2 separate regions of the Homo sapiens genome follow, and region 2 is linked to region 1. The links are contacts of gene promoters, found by promoter capture Hi-C in human tissues and cell types (Jung and others, 2019). All regions are on one chromosome and are shown on one strand. Each heading gives the region's core, a stretch centred on a gene start or on the middle of the fragment in contact. The rest is flanking DNA. Distances are from core to core; before and after follow the strand shown. Region 1 holds the start of PPIL6 (peptidylprolyl isomerase like 6). Region 2 overlaps AMD1 (adenosylmethionine decarboxylase 1).

Region 1 (4,248 bases), core at 582-3,081:
CAGGCTGGTCTTGAACTCCCGATTTCGTGATCTGCCCGCCTCAGCCTCCCAAAGTGCTGGGATTATAGGCAAGAGCCACCGCGCTCGGCCTGTAAACAATTCTAAAAAATCAAAAGAATTGTATTTCACGTTATGTGAAAATTATACGCAAGTCAAATTTCGTGTCCATAATATGGTTTTACTGGAATACTGTCATTCATTTCCATCTCTGTGTCTGCTTTTGCAACACAGGAAAAAGCTAAACAGGTGTGACTGAGACCCTATTGCCAAGAAGGCCTAACATATTTACTATCTGGACTTTACAGAAAAAAACTTGTCAACACTTTCTTTACAATGTGGAGTCGGCACAGAAAATATGTGCCTTCAGAAAAAGAGCGAAAAAAAAGAGAAAAAAAATCTCTGAAACTCATTAATACATTAACTTTGTAATTAACTTCATGGCCATTAACTTTGGTAATAAAAGGTTGCTGATCCCGTCTGCCCAAGCAACACAGACCACAATTTCTACTTTTGATGATTCATGTATTATTTTCACAGACTTCTGATCACTTGTTTTCTTTTTATTATTTATTTATTTTGAGACGGGGTCTGGCTCTGTCGCCCAGGCTGGAGGGCAATGGCGCGATCTCAGCTCTCTGCAAACTCCGCCTCCCGGGTTCAAGCGATTCTTGTGCCTCAGCCTCCTGAGTAGCTGGGATTACAGAGACCGCCACCACGCCCGGCTAATTTTTTGTATTTTTAGTAGAAACGGGGTTTCACCATGTTGGCCAGGCTGGTCTAGAACTCCGCCTCTGCCTCCCAAAGTGCTGAGATTATAGGCGTGAGTCACCGCGCCAAGATATCTTCTATTTGGGAACATTTTGTTGTCAAGTATCCAGCTGGGTACTTCGGGAGTTAAAAACATTAATTAAGGCATGGTCCTGGAGTCAAGTGAGCTTCGGCGAGAAGTTTGCCATGGACAGCATTTCTGGAGCAAACCCTGTAAGAAGGGCTGAATTCTACATGCCGACATTTCATACATTTCTCCTGCATTTCAGGTTGTAAGTGTGCTGCAGCATGACTGATCTGGCCAAATTCTTCCAGTTTCCTCAAGTGCTTTTCCTTTAGTATCGTTCTGAGTGTTTACAAAGAAATGATTTTCCAAAGCACTTGTGAAGCATCTAGTTCGATTGGAACGCAGTGACGGCTCTATAAAATTCAAAGAAAAGAATCTCCCCGCATGAATAGTTAACAAAAATCGCTTGGGCCGAGGTGGCGGGGTTGTAAAAATTAGCTAGTTATATAGTAATCATTTTTCCATAAATTTAAATATCTCTAATTAAAGAAAAAATTGACGTAGAACAAAATCTGCGGGTGTGTGTGTGTGTGTCTCGGAGGGGATTACCTTATCTCCCAGCGCGGTTCTGAACCCTTCCTTCGCTCAGTTCTCCCTTTAAAAGTCGCCAAGTGGAACGCCCGCCCCCGGACCCGCACTTGCCCCCCTATACTCTCCTCCCGGTCCTCCAGACGGAGCCCGCCCGGCCAGGACACGCCAGCCCCTTCCTCGGCCGGTGGGGCCTCGACCCCCGCCGCCTCGAGGAGGCGCGGCGCCTGCAGTCCACGCGGCCGAGAGCGGGTAGCGGGGAGGGCCGCCCACGACGGAGGTTTCTCTGTGGTTACCTCAGCGGCGCTCTTCGCAATCTGAAAGTTGGGGCAGCTGAAGAGCCCCACCACCTTCACCTGCAGCGGCCGCTCCGGCAGCGACGGCGAGCCGCACCTAGCGTGCGGGGGCCCGCACGGCTGCGGCCTTGCCATGGCCGCGCCCGGGGACGCCCGGTGACCCCAAACACTGCGCGTCGCTCCGGCAACCGCGCGGCCCCGCCTCCGCCGCTCGCAGGAGGCGGGGCCCAGGGGCGGGTCGAGGGCGGCCCGTGGCGGCTGGGCCTTTCCTCAACTTTGCGCCTGTTGCTGGGCCGCCGGCGCGCGGGCGGCCGCGACCGCCGGGGACGAGCTTGGAGGAAAAGGAACCGGGAGCCGCCCACCCGGGGGCGCTCTCCGGACCCCCAGGGTCCTAGCGCGCGGCCCTTACCGAGCCTGGGCGCCCGGATTTCGGCAGCGGATCGCCTTTCCGGGTTGGCGGCCCGCCTGATTGGGAACAGCCGGCCGGTTGCCGGGGGAACGCGGGAGTCGGGCCCGACCTGAGCCACGCGGGCTTGGTGCCCACCTGTGCGCGCCGCCTGCGAAGAAGGAACGGTCTGGGGAGAAGGCGCCGCCGGCCGCCCCCGTCCCCACCGCGGCCGTCGCTGGAGAGTTCGAGCCGCCTAGCGCCCCTGGAGCTCCCCAACCATGAAGCCCAACTTCTCCCTGCGACTGCGGATCTTCAACCTCAACTGCTGGTGAGTGCGTCTGCGGAGTGCGGTCTGGGGGCCACCTTCCGTTCGCACCCATGCAGCCTTCCTCCCCCTATCCCGCCCCACGATCTCAGGGTGTAGGGAAAACCCGAACCTCCAAAGTCCACATCTGGCCCCAGCGCCGGTGGTCCCAGCAGTCGCCTCCCCTGCCCCGCTCTTCCCTTCCTTAGGGGCATTCCGTACTTGAGCAAGCACCGGGCCGACCGCATGAGGCGCCTGGGAGACTTTCTGAACCAGGAGAGCTTCGACCTGGCTTTGCTGGAGGAGGTGAGATTGTGCAGCACGGTGCGGAACCCAGGCTGGGAGGAGGGACAGACCGTCCCACTGGGGAAAGACCAAGCAGGCATCCTCACCGCTTCCCTCAGGTGTGGAGTGAGCAGGACTTCCAGTACCTGAGACAGAAGCTGTCACCTACCTACCCAGCTGCACACCACTTCCGGAGGTGAGAAGCCCACTGGCCTGAAGCCTGTTGTCATCCCAGGAGGCTCTTGGCCCTGCCAGCCCTTCCCTATCCTGCCTGCACTCTCCAGTCTCCTCCAGCCTCCTCTCCCTCTGGATGTGAGAGAAGGAGAAGGGTGAACCAAGAAGGTCCTATGACTTCAGCCCATTTCAGCTTTGTTTTCTGGCTGCCCTATACTCCTCCAAAGGCTGTCGCCTTGGTTCTAGGGCTAGTCCCAGCAGTAGAAAAAGAAAAAAATAGCTGATCAGAGCTGGAAGACAAGGGAGGGGAAGAAGGCTGGGTGTCTCTCCCTGTTTTTCTGGTTATTAAGCAGGGCTTGGCTTTCAGCGGAATCATTGGCAGTGGCCTCTGTGTCTTCTCCAAACATCCAATCCAGGAGCTTACCCAGCACATCTACACTCTCAATGGCTACCCCTACATGGTAAGGCAGACCTTTGACCTCTTCCACCTCCCTTCCCCACCTCCAGTAATACAAGGTAGAGGAGGCAGCCCTCTGAGAGCTGCAGGGGATGGGCAGAAAGATGGTGGCGGTGCCCTGAGTTTCTATCTCCTCCTGCCTGCAGATCCATCATGGTGACTGGTTCAGTGGGAAGGCTGTGGGGCTGCTGGTGCTCCATCTAAGTGGCATGGTGCTCAACGCCTATGTGACCCATGTGAGTGAAGCTGGCAGTGCCTAGGGCTGGGACATGCAGCCCAGTCCTGGGACAGAGAGATGGTACTTCTCTAGCTCTCATACCTGGGGATGAGGTGTGGGGGCAAGATCTTATAAGGAAGCAATGGGCAAGGCTTATCCATTGTATACCAAACACCATGCCAAGTGACAGACACAGGCTTGATTCAGACATACCCCTGGGACCCTCAGTCTTATCTGCTGTGATCTCATCTATCTTGCTCAGCTCCATGCCGAATACAATCGACAGAAGGACATCTACCTAGCACATCGTGTGGCCCAAGCTTGGGAATTGGCCCAGTTCATCCAGTGTGTGAGCCTGGGCTTGAAATGGGAAGTGGGATGGGACCCAGGGGCTGAGGGTGAACAAGGCCCCAGTCATGGGGAAGAGCTGGTGATGGAAGAACTCCCGCCTCACCAACCTGGTTCCCCCAGCCACACATCCAAGAAGGCAGACGTGGTTCTGTTGTGTGGAGACCTCAACATGCACCCAGAAGACCTGGGCTGCTGCCTGCTGAAGGAGTGGACAGGGCTTCATGATGCCTATCTTGAAACTCGGGACTTCAAGGTGAGGACTTGCCTGTTACTTCCCCACCTATATCCCCAGCTTCTCTCCCTCCTTCTCCCCCACATCCTAGCATGAGCCAATGATTCCCTTAGGGCTCTGAGGAAGGCAACACAATGGTACCCAAGAACTGCTACGTCAGCCAGCAGGAGCTGAAGCCATT
Region 2 (4,248 bases), core at 717-3,216, 1.4 Mb after region 1:
CTCGACACGGCCGCTGAGGCCGCTGGGGGCTGCTCCCCAATCTCTTGACCTTGGGTTGTGTAACCTGCTACGGAGCCGGCGGAGCGGGGCGGGAGAGGTGCGGGTGGAGGGAGGCCCGCCTGCCCCAGGACATAATGCCTCTAATGCCTTAAGCTTGAGCAAAGGAATCTGGGGCCCACTCCCACTGCGGGCCGTCACGCGAGAGATACTTGGGCTGACCGCGCCGAAGAGGCGTTTTAGTTGGTATTGCTGTGGAAATCCATGCTTATATAAAAGCCCAGAGATCCCGTGGATGCTTAGGCCTTGTTCCTGGCGGCGGTCGCACCGGTGGCCACCAATGGCCTTCCTAGGCCCTGCCACCGGATCCCTGGCTCCTCTGCGCACGAGTGCGGCTAGGGTGGCGGTGCAGCGGAGTAACTGGCGTGGCCAGCTTCATTGAGAGGCGGCGACCAATGGGCTCCTGGGCCGCACTCAGAGCCTGGCCCCAGGGTGTGGACCAATGGGCGTTTTAGGAGTGTTAGCTGTTCTTGGAGCTGTCCCTTGACAAAAAGCAACTGGAAAAGGGAATCCAGGCAGACACGTGCTACCGAGACTTTAAGGCACGACGGGAAACCCGGTTTCTAGCAGTGTATCTTGAACGATTCCATTGTAGAAAAAAATACTAGTCATAGCTAAAATGTCACACGTCTCATTTTTTTCAAGCTTCGTGTGACACTTAAAATGTCTATAGCGCTTACTACGTGCCAGGCTCACGTGAGATTATAGGAAGCGGACTTTGGTCATGGAGAAGCTTAGTATTTCCTTCATTTCACAGATGAGAAAGATGGTATTTGTGATAGACGTTTGGTAAAACGATTGTGATCAGGATAATTAACCTAGAAAATCTTGGCAAGAACCTAGAAAATCTTGGGTAAGAACAGTCCTAGAAAACGAATAACAGAAGTTGTCACTTTGGCTTTTTAAATGTTTGAGCCCTTAAATAATAGTAAGTACATGTTCTTAATAAAGGGAAGAAGATTTTGTTCTCCCCAAGTTCTTGGCGGTTTGGCTGTTTAGAGCTTCCTGAGTCAAAGTGGAGAGAGGAGGAAGAGGCTTTTTACAAAGCAGCCTGCTTTCTTTAAATGTTTAAGAACCCTTTTTACTTTGTACTTTAATCAGCCCAAATTGTTTTACTGCTCCAGTGTGGCTTTTAAAATCATGGCCAAAGTTAAACTTTGAAGGACAAAATATTCCCTTGTGTAGATGATTTAGTGCCATCCATTTTGTGGACATGTAACATTCATTGAACAACTATTGGTAGTACACTGCCACATTGTAACTGTTGTAGATAAAGCAAGTTAAGCAAGAACTGAAAAATATGTTGATTTAACTAAGGTCCCGTGATAACCTTCGTTGGAACATTTTTCAGTGACCACTCAAGTGGTTAGGTTATTTACCAGGATGTTTAAAAAAGCCTGAAATAGTAGGTGTTCCTTGAATCACCTAAAATCAACAGCCTAGCAAAGAGAGTATCATGGACGGAGTCCGGTCGGTGGGGACATGGGGCCAGCCCCAGAGACCCCAGGGAAGGATAATCGGTCATCTAGAAGAATAAAGCGTGACATGTTTTACTCAAATGACGTGATTAAGTGCATAGCCTCTGGAATAACAAGATTTGAATTCAAACAGCATTTAATAGCTGTGTGAGCTGTTTCCTCATCTGTAAAATGGAGACAATAATGGTACATAGCTCATGGAAGTTGTGAAGAATAAATAAGTTAATATGTTATATGTAGTACGTAAACTGTTATCTTTAACACTTTAAAGACAGGATCCCTCTATAGCCCAGGCTGGAGTGCAGTGGCAGGATCATGGCTCACTGCAGCCTTGACCTCCTGGGCTCTATTAAGATGTGAATAAACTAAAAGTAGGTTAAAAGATGAACAGATGGAATTAAACAAATCTGTTTATAAAGCATAATAAACATAGGGACATAAAAACGATTAAGAGAATGAAAGGCTTAAATGTCCAAAGAGAGCATTAGTATTGATGCTAAAGACAAGGATAACAAGATAAGGATATGAGGGAGAAAAAAATCCTGGAAAAATAGCTTTCCAAAACTAATGCAAGAAGAAATGGAGAACCCAAAACAGTCCTAGAACACCTAAATAACTTGAATCAGTCAATCATCTAGGCCCAGATGATTTCACTGGAGTGTTCTGTATAATTCAAGGGAGAAAATATCCAACTTTTTTCACGCATTCTTCTGGGAAACAACATACTTCCCTCGGTTTTCTCATCCCAAAGTCTGAAATATTTTTTTCTCCTACACGATATTTACCTTTCATATTTAGATCTGCAATCCATCTGGAATTGATTTTGTGTGTGGTGTGAGGGAATACACTTTAAACAAACTTGGCTCATCAGTCCAAGCTTTAATGCTTGGAATCTTTTCTGAATGTACACCTTTTTACTAAACACTGCTTCCCTCTTGTAGACCATTTAAGATATTTTATCTTAAGTGAACAAATTATGTAATACTGAGAAATTTAACAAAGAAAAATCTTTTATGATATAGCTTGGGTTAAACAATACTGTTGGAGAAAAGCAGCAGTCCAGGTATATCCAGATGAATAAAGGACAATTAAGGGAGAGGCGGTTTCTTAGGGGTAACCTGCAGTTTTCTCTGATTTTTCAGATTTTACGGATGTTGAATAAAAATCAGTGACCATTTAAAAAATGGTTTAGTTGTTGGATCAAAGTGCTGTAACAAACAAAAGCTTTTTATAAGACATGGCAGCTTTAGGGAGGGTGAGAGTAGTAAGAAGGAAATCTGTTAGAAAATAGAAAATTTTGCTGAGAAAAGAATGATTTTTCAGGACTGGAAATCCTATTACTGTGCTTTACTCAGATTTTATAAACTAAAACATAATTTTTAGTAAAGGATTGGGGCAGTTGTAAAGATAGTCATACCTCAGCTTAACTTTCCCCAAACTCATGACTTATTTGACTACATCATTATGCAGCATTATTGCAATATCAATAATTTACATTGAAGGAATTTACAACCCGTTGCCAAAAAACCTTTTAGTGTAATGTTTCAGAGTAGAAATGCTTCCTGCTAAAGAATAAAGCTTCTCGTTACATTCCTCCCAGCAGTTTCAAAAAGGTTTCATGGCTGGGCTTGGTGGCTCATGTCTAATCCCAGCACTCTGAGAGACCAAGGAGTTTGAGAGCCCAGTCTGGGCAACATAGTGAAATCCTGACTCTACAAAAAAAATTGAAAAATTATCTGTGCGTGCTGGTCCATCCTGGTGCGTGTCTGCATCCCAGCCACTCGGGAAGCTGAGGTGGGAGGATTTTTTTGAGCCATTGGGGGATCGAGGCTGCAGCGAAATGAGATTGCACCAGTGCGCTCCATCTGGTGGCAGAGTGAAACCCTCTCAACAACAACGAAAATATTTCAACTGTTGTTTACAAACCATGTATCTTTAAGAAGCACATGTTGAAAGTAGCAGAAAACTGAGAGGAGTATCCCGATTTGGGGTAAAAATTTGAGATAGAGAAACAATAATGTGATGATAATAGGTTCATATCTTTGAACAAAAGGGAGGAGGCTTATTTCTCAGGTTATCTGAATTCACTGCCGCAGGAAGGCACCCTCAGAATCTAACTTCTGGTCAGTCTAGCTTTACTCAAGAATGATCTGGTTTTAGGATGCCTTTTACCTAAAGACTGCTTACTACCTGGGGTAGAGGCACCCTGATGAATGTACTGTAATGAGAGCCTCTAAAACAGACCTAAAAATATGAGGTAAGAGCAGAATTGAGAAGCTGCAGTGACTTTGGATAAATTACCTGAACTCTGAAACCAGCTGGTTTTACATTAGGAAGTAATGAGTAATCTAATGACCTGGAAGCTTTTCAAATAAAAATTTGCAGGCATCATCCTCAGAAAGTGTCTGACCTAACTGGGTATGGGAATAGCATCTATGTATTGAGTTTTCAGGTGATTAGAGCATAACCCTGCACTAATGGGATCCTTCTGTATTTAAGTTCTTGGTCTTTTTTTTTTTTGGACAGTCTCAGTCACCCAGGTTCGAGTGCAGTGGTGCCATCTCAGCTCACTGCAACCTCCGCCTCCCAGGTTCAAATGATTCTCCTGCCTCAGCCTCCCTAATAGTGGGTACTACAGGTATGCACCACGATGCCTGGCTAATTTTTGTATTTTTAGTAAAAGACAGGGTTTCGCCATGTTGGCTAGGCTGGT

Evidence for each region. Contacts are between HindIII fragments. The study calls those that stand out against the background at their distance.
Region 2: a contact is called between a fragment that was not itself captured here and the fragment with the promoter of PPIL6 in region 1, in 1 of the 25 tissues and cell types used here (dorsolateral prefrontal cortex).

Annotation. Positions count from the first base shown.
Region 1 is chr6:109,438,797-109,443,044 of GRCh38, forward strand. It overlaps PPIL6 (peptidylprolyl isomerase like 6), which reads right to left and starts at 1,832. Exons shown (of 8, transcript NM_173672.5): 1 at 1,660-1,832. The coding sequence starts at 1,794. SMPD2 (sphingomyelin phosphodiesterase 2) reads left to right here and starts at 1,928. Exons shown (of 10, transcript NM_003080.3): 1 at 1,928-2,375; 2 at 2,561-2,657; 3 at 2,756-2,832; 4 at 3,178-3,271; 5 at 3,414-3,503; 6 at 3,747-3,829; 7 at 3,956-4,088; 8 at 4,181-4,248. The coding sequence starts at 2,326. RefSeq lists silencers at 1,423-2,242, 1,884-2,089 and enhancers at 2,503-2,572, 2,733-2,812. The HindIII fragment of the contact is 4,118 bases long and covers 6-4,123 here.
Region 2 is chr6:110,875,926-110,880,173 of GRCh38, forward strand. The region is part of intron 1 of AMD1 (adenosylmethionine decarboxylase 1); the gene reads left to right. Among named protein-coding and RNA genes, the nearest start is that of AMD1, 3.3 kb to the left of the region's middle. RefSeq lists a silencer at 1-34 and an enhancer at 1-712. The HindIII fragment of the contact is 3,078 bases long and covers 428-3,505 here.